Regions from separate parts of the Homo sapiens genome. Here regions 1 and 2 are each linked to region 3. Evidence: promoter capture Hi-C in human tissues and cell types (Jung and others, 2019). All regions are on one chromosome and are shown on one strand. Each heading gives the region's core, a stretch centred on a gene start or on the middle of the fragment in contact. The rest is flanking DNA. Distances are from core to core; before and after follow the strand shown.

Region 1 (2,719 bases), core at 142-2,641, 580 kb before region 3:
GGGGGCGGGGTGGGGGTCGGGGGACAAGAGAATGCAGCTCGAGCTTGCCGAGCCTTATAGTTCAAGGGAAAGACAACAAAGAAGAAACCAAGGCTATGTGTCCTTGGCAAATCACATACAACTTTTGACTTCTTAATCTTGGTTTTCCCCTTTTTTTTCTTTTTCTTTTTCTTTTTTTTTTTGAGACGGAGTTTCGCTCTTGTTGACCGTGCTGGAGGGCAATGGTGCAGTCTTGGCTCACTGCAACCTCCGCCTCCCGGGTTCAAGCCATTCTCCTGGGTCGGCCTCCCGAGGAGCTGGGATTAAAGGCACGTGCTACCACCCTCGGCTAATTTTTGTATTTTTAGTAGAGACAGGGTTTCACCATGTTGGTCAGGCTGGTCTCGAACTCCTGACCTCATGACCCGCCCGCCTCGGCCTCCCAAAGTGCTGGGATTACAGGCATGAGCCACCGCGCCTGGCGCCCTTTCTTAAAAATAGGTTGCGGAAGGGCGCGGTGGCTCATGCGTATAATCCCAGCACTTTGGGAGGCCGAGGCGGGCGGATCGCCTGGGCCCAGGAGTGCAAGACCAGCCGGGGCAACATGGCGAAAACCCCTTTTCTATTTAAATAAATAAATTAGTTTGCAAAGTTGAGAAGATTTTTTTTTTTTTTTTTTTGAGACGGAGTCTCGCTCTTTCGCCCAGTCTGCAGTGCAGTGGCGCGATCTCGGCTCACTGCAAGCTCCGCCTCCCGGGTTCACGCCATTCTCCTGCCTCAGCCTCCCGAGTAGCTGGGACTACAGGCGCCCGCCACCACGCCCGGCTAATTTTTGTATTTTTTAGTAGAGACGGGGTTTCACCTTGTTAGCCAGGTTGGTCTCGATCTCCTGACCTCGTGATCCGCCCACCTCGGCCTCCCAAAGTGCTGGGATTACAGGCGTGAGCCACCGCGCCCGGCAGCAATTTTTTTTTTTTTAAAGAAAACACTCAAAGCACTCCCTCATATAAGTAGATAACTCAAGATATTGCTTGTATTCTTTATAACCTGCGCAGGCTGCAATAAGTCATATTGCTGAAGACTAAGACCCCATGAGCGAGGAGAAGGGGGGATCATGTTCCTAATGGCGTGTGGTCAGGACACGAAAGAAAAAGGGAGCTTTGGAGGAGAATTCGTTTATTTAAGATCTGTAGCTGAGTCTCCTCTCTTCCCCCATTAAAAGGTTGCAGCAGAGCTGCCGCCTCGGGAGCCGGTTTGCGCGCCGGCTTCGGCTTTGCAGCAGTTACCGCCTACAACTCCCGGCATGCTGCTGGGTGTGGGCCGGCCCGTAGACTCCATTTCCCAGCCAGCCCCGGGTCTCGGTCAGGACGTGCCGGCGCCTATAAGAGCCAGTGCGCTGCGGCCGGATCCTATTGTTAGCCGGAGCCGGGGCGGTTCTGGGCGTCTGCTGCCGGGGGCGCCCGAGTTGCCGGAGACGCCCGGCCCTCTCTGCCTGCCGGCTGGGCTGCCCACCGCCCTCCCTCCCCGCCCTGCCGCCCTGGGAGCTCCCCGGCCGTCGCCGCGGGGCCCGGGACTCGCTCGCTCCTCCCTCCTTCCCACCGGGCTAGGGCGGCGGCGGCAGCGGGGGCGGCAGAGACCATCACGGGAGGAGGCAGCTGCGGCGGGGCCGGTAATGGGCCTAGGGGTGCGGGGCGGAGGGTGCCGCCTCGTCCTTTCTCGGGATCGGCCCTCGGGCGGCCGTGGAGGAGTGGTCAAGCCCAGAGCCGTGCGGATGGAGGGGTCAGAAATGAGAGGCTCGGACGGGAGCGGTCGGGGGGCGGGGAGGTCGGGTGCCGTTGGGAAGGAACCGAGTCGGGAAGAGGCGTGGGAGCGAGGGGCACCGAGGACGCTGGCCCGGACTGCGGGGGCAGCTCGCGGGAGACCGATGGGCGGCTTGGAAGCCTGCAGGATTGCAGATGAGGATTGAGTTCGGAATGGAGTGGAGAATGATGTAGGATGGAGGAAAGTGAAGGAAGGGGAGGGGGAACAGAGGAAAATGTGGGAGGAGTGGTTGGGAATTTGTGAGTAGCAGGCAGGAAGGGATGCGGAAGGCTGGGTAGGGGCTGCAGAGGATTGGAATGAGCGGGAAGGTTAGCAGGAATCAGAGGGAAGTGGGCCGAGAGCTGAAGGGTTCGGCAGGAGTGTTCATTAAAAGGAACTGGTGACTTGACATGTCCCTTCGCTCCGGTTCCTGATGTCTCCCATATTTCTGGCGTCGTGTGGGAAAATGAAAGCATCAATTGCCCTGGTTGCTAGCTTGATCTTTTTTCATAGGCCCAATTACGCAGCCAACTGCCACCCGTCCCTTTTAGTGCTGTGGTCTTGATTCATCCTTTTAAAGGGGTTGAGAGTGGCAGTGTGACACACAAACTGTTCTTCAGAATGAAATGCTAGAAGTTATCCCCACAAGACAACACTGTCCCCTTGTCCTGCAGTTTTCAGTTCAAGGTAAATTCATAGTTCAGATTTTTTTCTTCACTGGCTTTCTGTCTTGCAAATCCACAAAGCCAGGATGTTGGTTGTGCCGGTGTTATAAATGACTGGATATCCTTGAGAGTTAATGCAGCATCATGTTCCAGTTCCCACAAAGATCTGTCTTCCACACGATGGTAGTTTAGGCATGGAAAATTCTAACCTTGTGTTAGTGAATGGGTAAAAATCGGGGAGTGGGGGTGGTGAGTGCACGGCTTTCTTTAAACAC
Region 2 (2,700 bases), core at 13-2,512, 740 kb before region 3:
ATAGGAAAGAATGGAAGGGCTTCCTGACTTCCTGTGTAAACACTTAAAAGGGACTTCTGGAGACCACTCATTTTGTCATGTTCTGTCCCTGGGTAATGACTTTAGGGTGGGACTTTCACGCTCTGAAGGATAAATAAACCCGTAGCAGGAGGGGGTGCAGGATCTATTTTAGGGTAGAGGAGAGGCCTGTTTCAGAACCTTTCAAATTGCAGGGCCTATCCTGGAAGTGTAGAAAAGGGTTTTTAATAGGAGAGGAGCACTATTTCATTATGTTAAAATAATGTTTACAAAGAATTAGTAAGAATGCTGCAAGAAAATGCACATGCTATATAATATAATGTAAATATATACACATACAACTCATTTGATCTCACTTATTGTAAAAATATGCATTCCTAATAATGGCTTATCCTACTGAGTGACTTATTAAATGTCACAACAACGTTTTAAAGTAGGTACTCTTACCTCCATTTTGCAGATAGAGGTTAGGTAATTTTCCCAAGGTCACACAGCTAGTAAAGGACAGAGTTCATATTTGAAACCCAGTCTGTCAGGCTCTATAGCCCCTACTCTTAATCACTATATTATGCAGGGAGAAATCCATCAACATATTGTCTTTGGGTGGTGGTTTATTTTCTTCTTTATTCTCTAGGATTTTCTATTTGGATATACTCTAGGAGTTAAATGATAAACTTTTGAATAGGGAAGAAGGTGGGGTGGTGAAATTTGAAGGCCAAACATATGCTTTCAAACAAAAGAATTCACTCCATTTCCTTTTCCACTTTTCTACATTTTCCAGAAGAACTGATGACCACCCCAATTTTACAGCCCACTGAGGCCCTGTCCCCAGAAGATGGAGCCAGCACAGCACTCATTGCAGGTAATAGACTCTGAGCCAACTCCAAGGGACCTTCTGGATCAAGGGCATCTCTCTCCAGAGGGAGCCTGACCAAATCCATTAATGGGCTCACTCTGGCTTGTAAGTTATATTACACACACACACACACACACACACACACACACACAGCCATAAAAGACTCGGAGGCTTCTGTCAGAGGCACTACCAGTAAATGACAGGTTGGGAGGTGGCCGCAAATAGATATGCATACGGACGTTACACTTGAGTACGTGGGTAGGGACGAGGATATATGTGGTTGGTTGAGTGGGTGAGGAAGAGGGGGAGGATCAGATAAACCACTTCCTGTTAGGATAAGCCATTTCCTGTTCCCTCCTTCCCGTTTCTTTAAGAATCAGGAACTGGTTTGGGAGGCAGTTCAGTTTTGTCAGAAATCAAAAGCATGTGTCCTTAGCTTAAGCACCAGGAGACTCCAGCTATTATGTGCCATGGAAATTGGGGTTGGTGGGGGAACATGGGTTTGGATGGAAGTGGACACTAGTTAATGAAAACAAGAGGATCTTTACGAAAACAGTGACTAAATCAGATGACTCCAGGAACTACTGAGACATCCTCAATCCTGAAACATCTCTACATTTTCCCTCTCCTTTCCAAGTTGTTATCACCGTTGTCTTCCTCACCCTGCTCTCGGTCGTGATCTTGATCTTCTTTTACCTGTACAAGAACAAAGGCAGCTACGTCACCTATGAACCTACAGAAGGTGAGCCCAGTGCCATCGTCCAGATGGAGAGTGACTTGGCCAAGGGCAGCGAGAAAGAGGAATATTTCATCTAATGACTCCCAGGCCCCAAGGAGCTTATTCCTGGCTCCATCGCTAACACGTTGACTGCTTATTATGGGAAAGTTTTCTCTGAAGCCAGGGAGAAGCATTGATTGATGTGGGCAAATCCAAGCTCCAGCCAGGTCGCAGTCCCAAATGCCGACATCACTGACTCCAGGGACCAGGGACATGGAGAAAGCTGTTTATGATATCTTTAACCAGGCCCTCTTACTAGAGCTGGTGTTTGTGACTGGCCAACAAGATGTGGCTATGCCAGGGGACATCTGAGTATGTGCCCAGTCATCTTTTTTCACAGGTTGAAGGGAGAGAAAAGATTTTGAGTTAAGGTCATTGGCTGCTCTACTCTGTCCCCTACCTGGTCACCTAGTGATAGCCCCAGTGGAGATACTGTCCATACAAGGTCTTCCCAGAGGCTGGATACCACAGTAAAAGGCCAGGCCAGGAGGGGTAGGAGACTATGGAGATCTTACCTCCTGATAAATGTGCTACACCCCCTAATCTGAGCCCTTCCTTTCCGTGTTCCCCAACAACCTCATGCTTACGTGATTTTTATTCAAATTAAAAATTTTCATTGCTACAGAAATCAGATTCTCATGTGCAAGAAGTAACTACATTTTGACTTATTTTTGCTTAAACATTTTTGACATTTTCTTTTCCCTATTTAACGCCTTTACATATGTTCTCTTCCAAGCAATAAGAACCCTAGGAAAGTTCTAGAAGTTTGCAGAACTATCTCAGGGATTTGAGACAAAGATGGTGCAGGAAAGCTTGTTCCAGGGGAACATCATTAGAAACATACCCTGGGAGGGCCGGGTTCGGTGGCTCACGCCTGTGATCCCAGCACTTTGGGAGGCCGAGGCAGGCGGATCACAAGGTTAGGAGATCGAGACCATCCTGGCTAACACGGTGAAACCCCGTCTCTACTAAAAATATATAAAAAAAATAGCTGGGCGTGGTGGCGGGCGCCCATAGTCCCAGCTGCTTGGGAGGCTGAGGCAGGAGA
Region 3 (2,786 bases), core at 109-2,608:
CATTCTTCTTTTCCAATCAAGAGTTTTTGATCCACTTGAAAAATGCTAGTGAAGAGGGCCTTCCACAAGGAACTCAGTAAGAATATGCAACTCTGGAGACACAATCAAAGTACTGGTATCAAGCTTGGAGAAAATGCTGCTTTTGTCTCAGGGGCAGCCAGTGATAAAAACAGGAACTTTACACAGAACTGATCACAACTGCCCCAGAAGCCTGATCACATGCCCACAACGGAGCACTGTGTTTCTCTCATTGTTGTACAAGGAGTTCTCTAATAACAGTGGCTTGATTTATCCCATTTTTTTTTTTTAATTCTGAAAATAAATCGAACCCTCCCTGTCCCAATCCATTGTCAAAAGAAAGAATGCCAGCCAGGATTTGCAAGTAAACGGTAGCCTCCTCTCCTTCCTTCATCAAAGACTCCAAAAGGTGACCAGATGCGGAAAATTCGGCCCGAATAACAGGCACCAGGAAAAAAAAAAACTTCTTATGACAAAGGTGGTCTAAAAGCAGCACCGTGTGTCTCTCTGGGTTAATGCCATTGCTTCTTATCTTCCTAGGACCCTAAATGGCTCACCCGCTTGTGTCTCACTCCTGTCACTGGGGAGGCATCGCGCATTGTTAAAGGAAAGAGAAGAAATGATGCTGCGGATTTCCCATGTGTCTCTTTTTGAAAGGGGGAAGGGGGGGCTGGAACAAGGCGTGGAGCCCTCCACGAAAAGGGGAGAGGAAAGGAGAAAGCTGTCAGCCACCCTCCTCGCAGCCCTACCCCTCACCCCACCTGGGCCAGACGCCTGGGCAGAAGCGGGAGGGCGCAGCTTTGTCTCGGGTTTTGGGGGGCAGGAAGCGCAGAAGCAGTGTGGGCCCGGGAGGACCTTTCCACAAGCCCTTACTTAGTCCCCTCCATGGGAAAACAATGAAAGCCACAGGAAACCACTTAATGGGGTGGGAGAGGAGGGAAAACGGTCGTGGAGCGCCAGGCCAGGTTCTCTACACCCTCGTCCCCCTCGCCGCACGGCCGCCAGAGCGCGCGGCGGGGACCTGTCTCCCAAGTCGCCGCGATCCGCAGGGCCCCGGGCGCCCTCTCCCCGGCCCGGCTCCTACCCTCCGAGAGCTCCAGCTCCAGCTCCGCCAGCTGCGCCCGCACTTCAGGCGGCAGCGCCGCCACCGCGGCCGGCGACGGCTCCAGGCCTCGTTCCGCCATCCCAGCTCCGCCAGCCACACTCCGGAAGACAAGAGAGGGGGCCGAAGGAGGGACGGACAGACACGGGCCCACACCCGGCTACAGGATCCGGCTCCGGCCGCCGAGCACCACCAGCACCGCCGCCGCCGCCGCCGCCGCCATGAGCAAAGGTCACGTGAGCGCGACGGCCCCCGCCCCCCGGCCAGGAGGACGCACCGCCTCTCCAGCCCAGTCAGGCTGAAGACGCATATGCTTACGGCGCCCTCTACTGGGAAGCTACCAGAACGACGGGCCCAAGCCCACCACTCGAATTTCCCTGCGCGAAATGGGCTCATGGTATGGACTGTCGGCTTTACCACAGTAGTGTGGACACATAGCATTTACCTTTCACTCTCGAGCAAGTTTTTAGGGGTCCCAGGCCTTACTTTTTCCAATACTAGACTTAGCAATGTATGTCTATCGTGTCCTTTACTCCATTTTCCCTGATTAATACCTGCCCATTTATAAAAACCTAATCACAGGCCACCTCCTTCGCTGTGGCTCCTGGTCCTATCTGCCAGGAGCTCTGTTTCCGTTTCAGTTTTAGCTTTTAAAAAGACAGGCGCGGTGGCTCTCGCCTGTAATCCTAGCACTTTGGGAGGCTGAGGCTGGTGGATCACCTGAGGTTAAGAGTACCAGGCTAGCCGACCGGGCGCGGTGGCTCACGCCTGTAATCCCAGCACTTTGGGAGGCCGAGACGGGTGGATCACGAAGTCAGGAGATCGAGACCATCCTGGCTGACACGGTGAAACCCCGTCTCTACTAAAAGTACAAAAAATTAGCCGGGCGTGGTGGCGGGCGCCTGTAGTCCCAGCTACTCGGGAGGCTGAGGCAGGAGAATGGCGTGAACCCGGGAGGCGGAGCTTGCAGTGAGCCAAGATCACGCCACTGCACTCCAGCCTGAGCGTGAGCGCGAGACTCCGACTCAAAAAAAAAAAAAAAAGAGTACTAGGCCAGCCTGGCCAACATGGTGAAACCCCGTCTCCAATAAAAATACAAAAATTAGCCGGGCGTGGTGGCGGATGCCTGTACTCCTAGCTACTCAAGAGGCTGAGGCAGGAGAATCACTTGAACCCAGGAGGCAGAGGTTACAGTAAGCTGAGATCGCGTCATTGCACTCCAGCCCGGGCAAGAGAGCAAACACTCCGTCTAAAGAAAAGAAAAAGACAATAGAGAGCAGGTCCACTTCTTTCTTTCTATACTTCTAACTACTTACAAGGAGGGAACTTACTTTAACTCATCCTCCTCACTCTGTGGCCTAATAGGTGTTCCAAAAACATTAATTTTAATTTAATATGAAGAGGGTCCAAGGCTAGGTGCAGTGGCTCACACCTATGATCCCAGCACTTTGGGAGGCCAAGGTGGGCGGATCACCTGAGGTCAAGAGTTCGAGACCAGCCTGGCCAACATGGCGAAACCCCGTCTCTACTAAAAACACAAAAATTAGCCGGGAGTAGTGGCACATGCCTGTAATCCCAGCTACCTGGGGGAGCTGAGGTAGGAACGTCGCTTGAACCCGGGAGGCCAAGGTTACAGTGAGCTGAGAACATGGCGGCTGCGCTCCAG

The links. The method cuts DNA at HindIII sites, captures the fragments that hold promoters and counts their contacts. A contact is called where the count stands out against the background at its distance.
Region 1: a contact is called between the fragment with the promoter of CSRNP2 here and the fragment with the promoter of DIP2B in region 3, in 1 of the 25 tissues and cell types used here (lymphoblastoid cells).
Region 2: a fragment that was not itself captured here is called in contact with the fragment with the promoter of DIP2B in region 3 in 1 of the 25 tissues and cell types used here (hippocampus).

What each region holds. Positions count from the first base shown.
Region 1 is chr12:51,082,268-51,084,986 of GRCh38, reverse strand. It overlaps CSRNP2 (cysteine and serine rich nuclear protein 2), which reads left to right and starts at 1,391. Exons shown (of 5, transcript NM_030809.3): 1 at 1,391-1,648. RefSeq lists an enhancer at 340-966 and a silencer at 1,340-1,829. The HindIII fragment of the contact is 9,557 bases long and covers 1-2,719 here.
Region 2 is chr12:51,244,931-51,247,630 of GRCh38, reverse strand. SMAGP (small cell adhesion glycoprotein) reads left to right here. Exons shown (of 4, transcript NM_001031628.2): 3 at 800-880; 4 at 1,512-2,700. The coding sequence ends at 1,690. It also overlaps a transcript of DAZAP2 not described here. Among named protein-coding and RNA genes, the nearest start is that of DAZAP2, 7.5 kb to the right of the region's middle. RefSeq lists an enhancer at 1-182. The HindIII fragment of the contact is 4,727 bases long and covers 1-2,700 here.
Region 3 is chr12:50,503,557-50,506,342 of GRCh38, reverse strand. It overlaps DIP2B (disco interacting protein 2 homolog B), which reads right to left and starts at 1,358. Exons shown (of 38, transcript NM_173602.3): 1 at 1,103-1,358. The coding sequence starts at 1,202. RefSeq lists a silencer at 946-1,055. The HindIII fragment of the contact is 9,488 bases long and covers 1-2,786 here.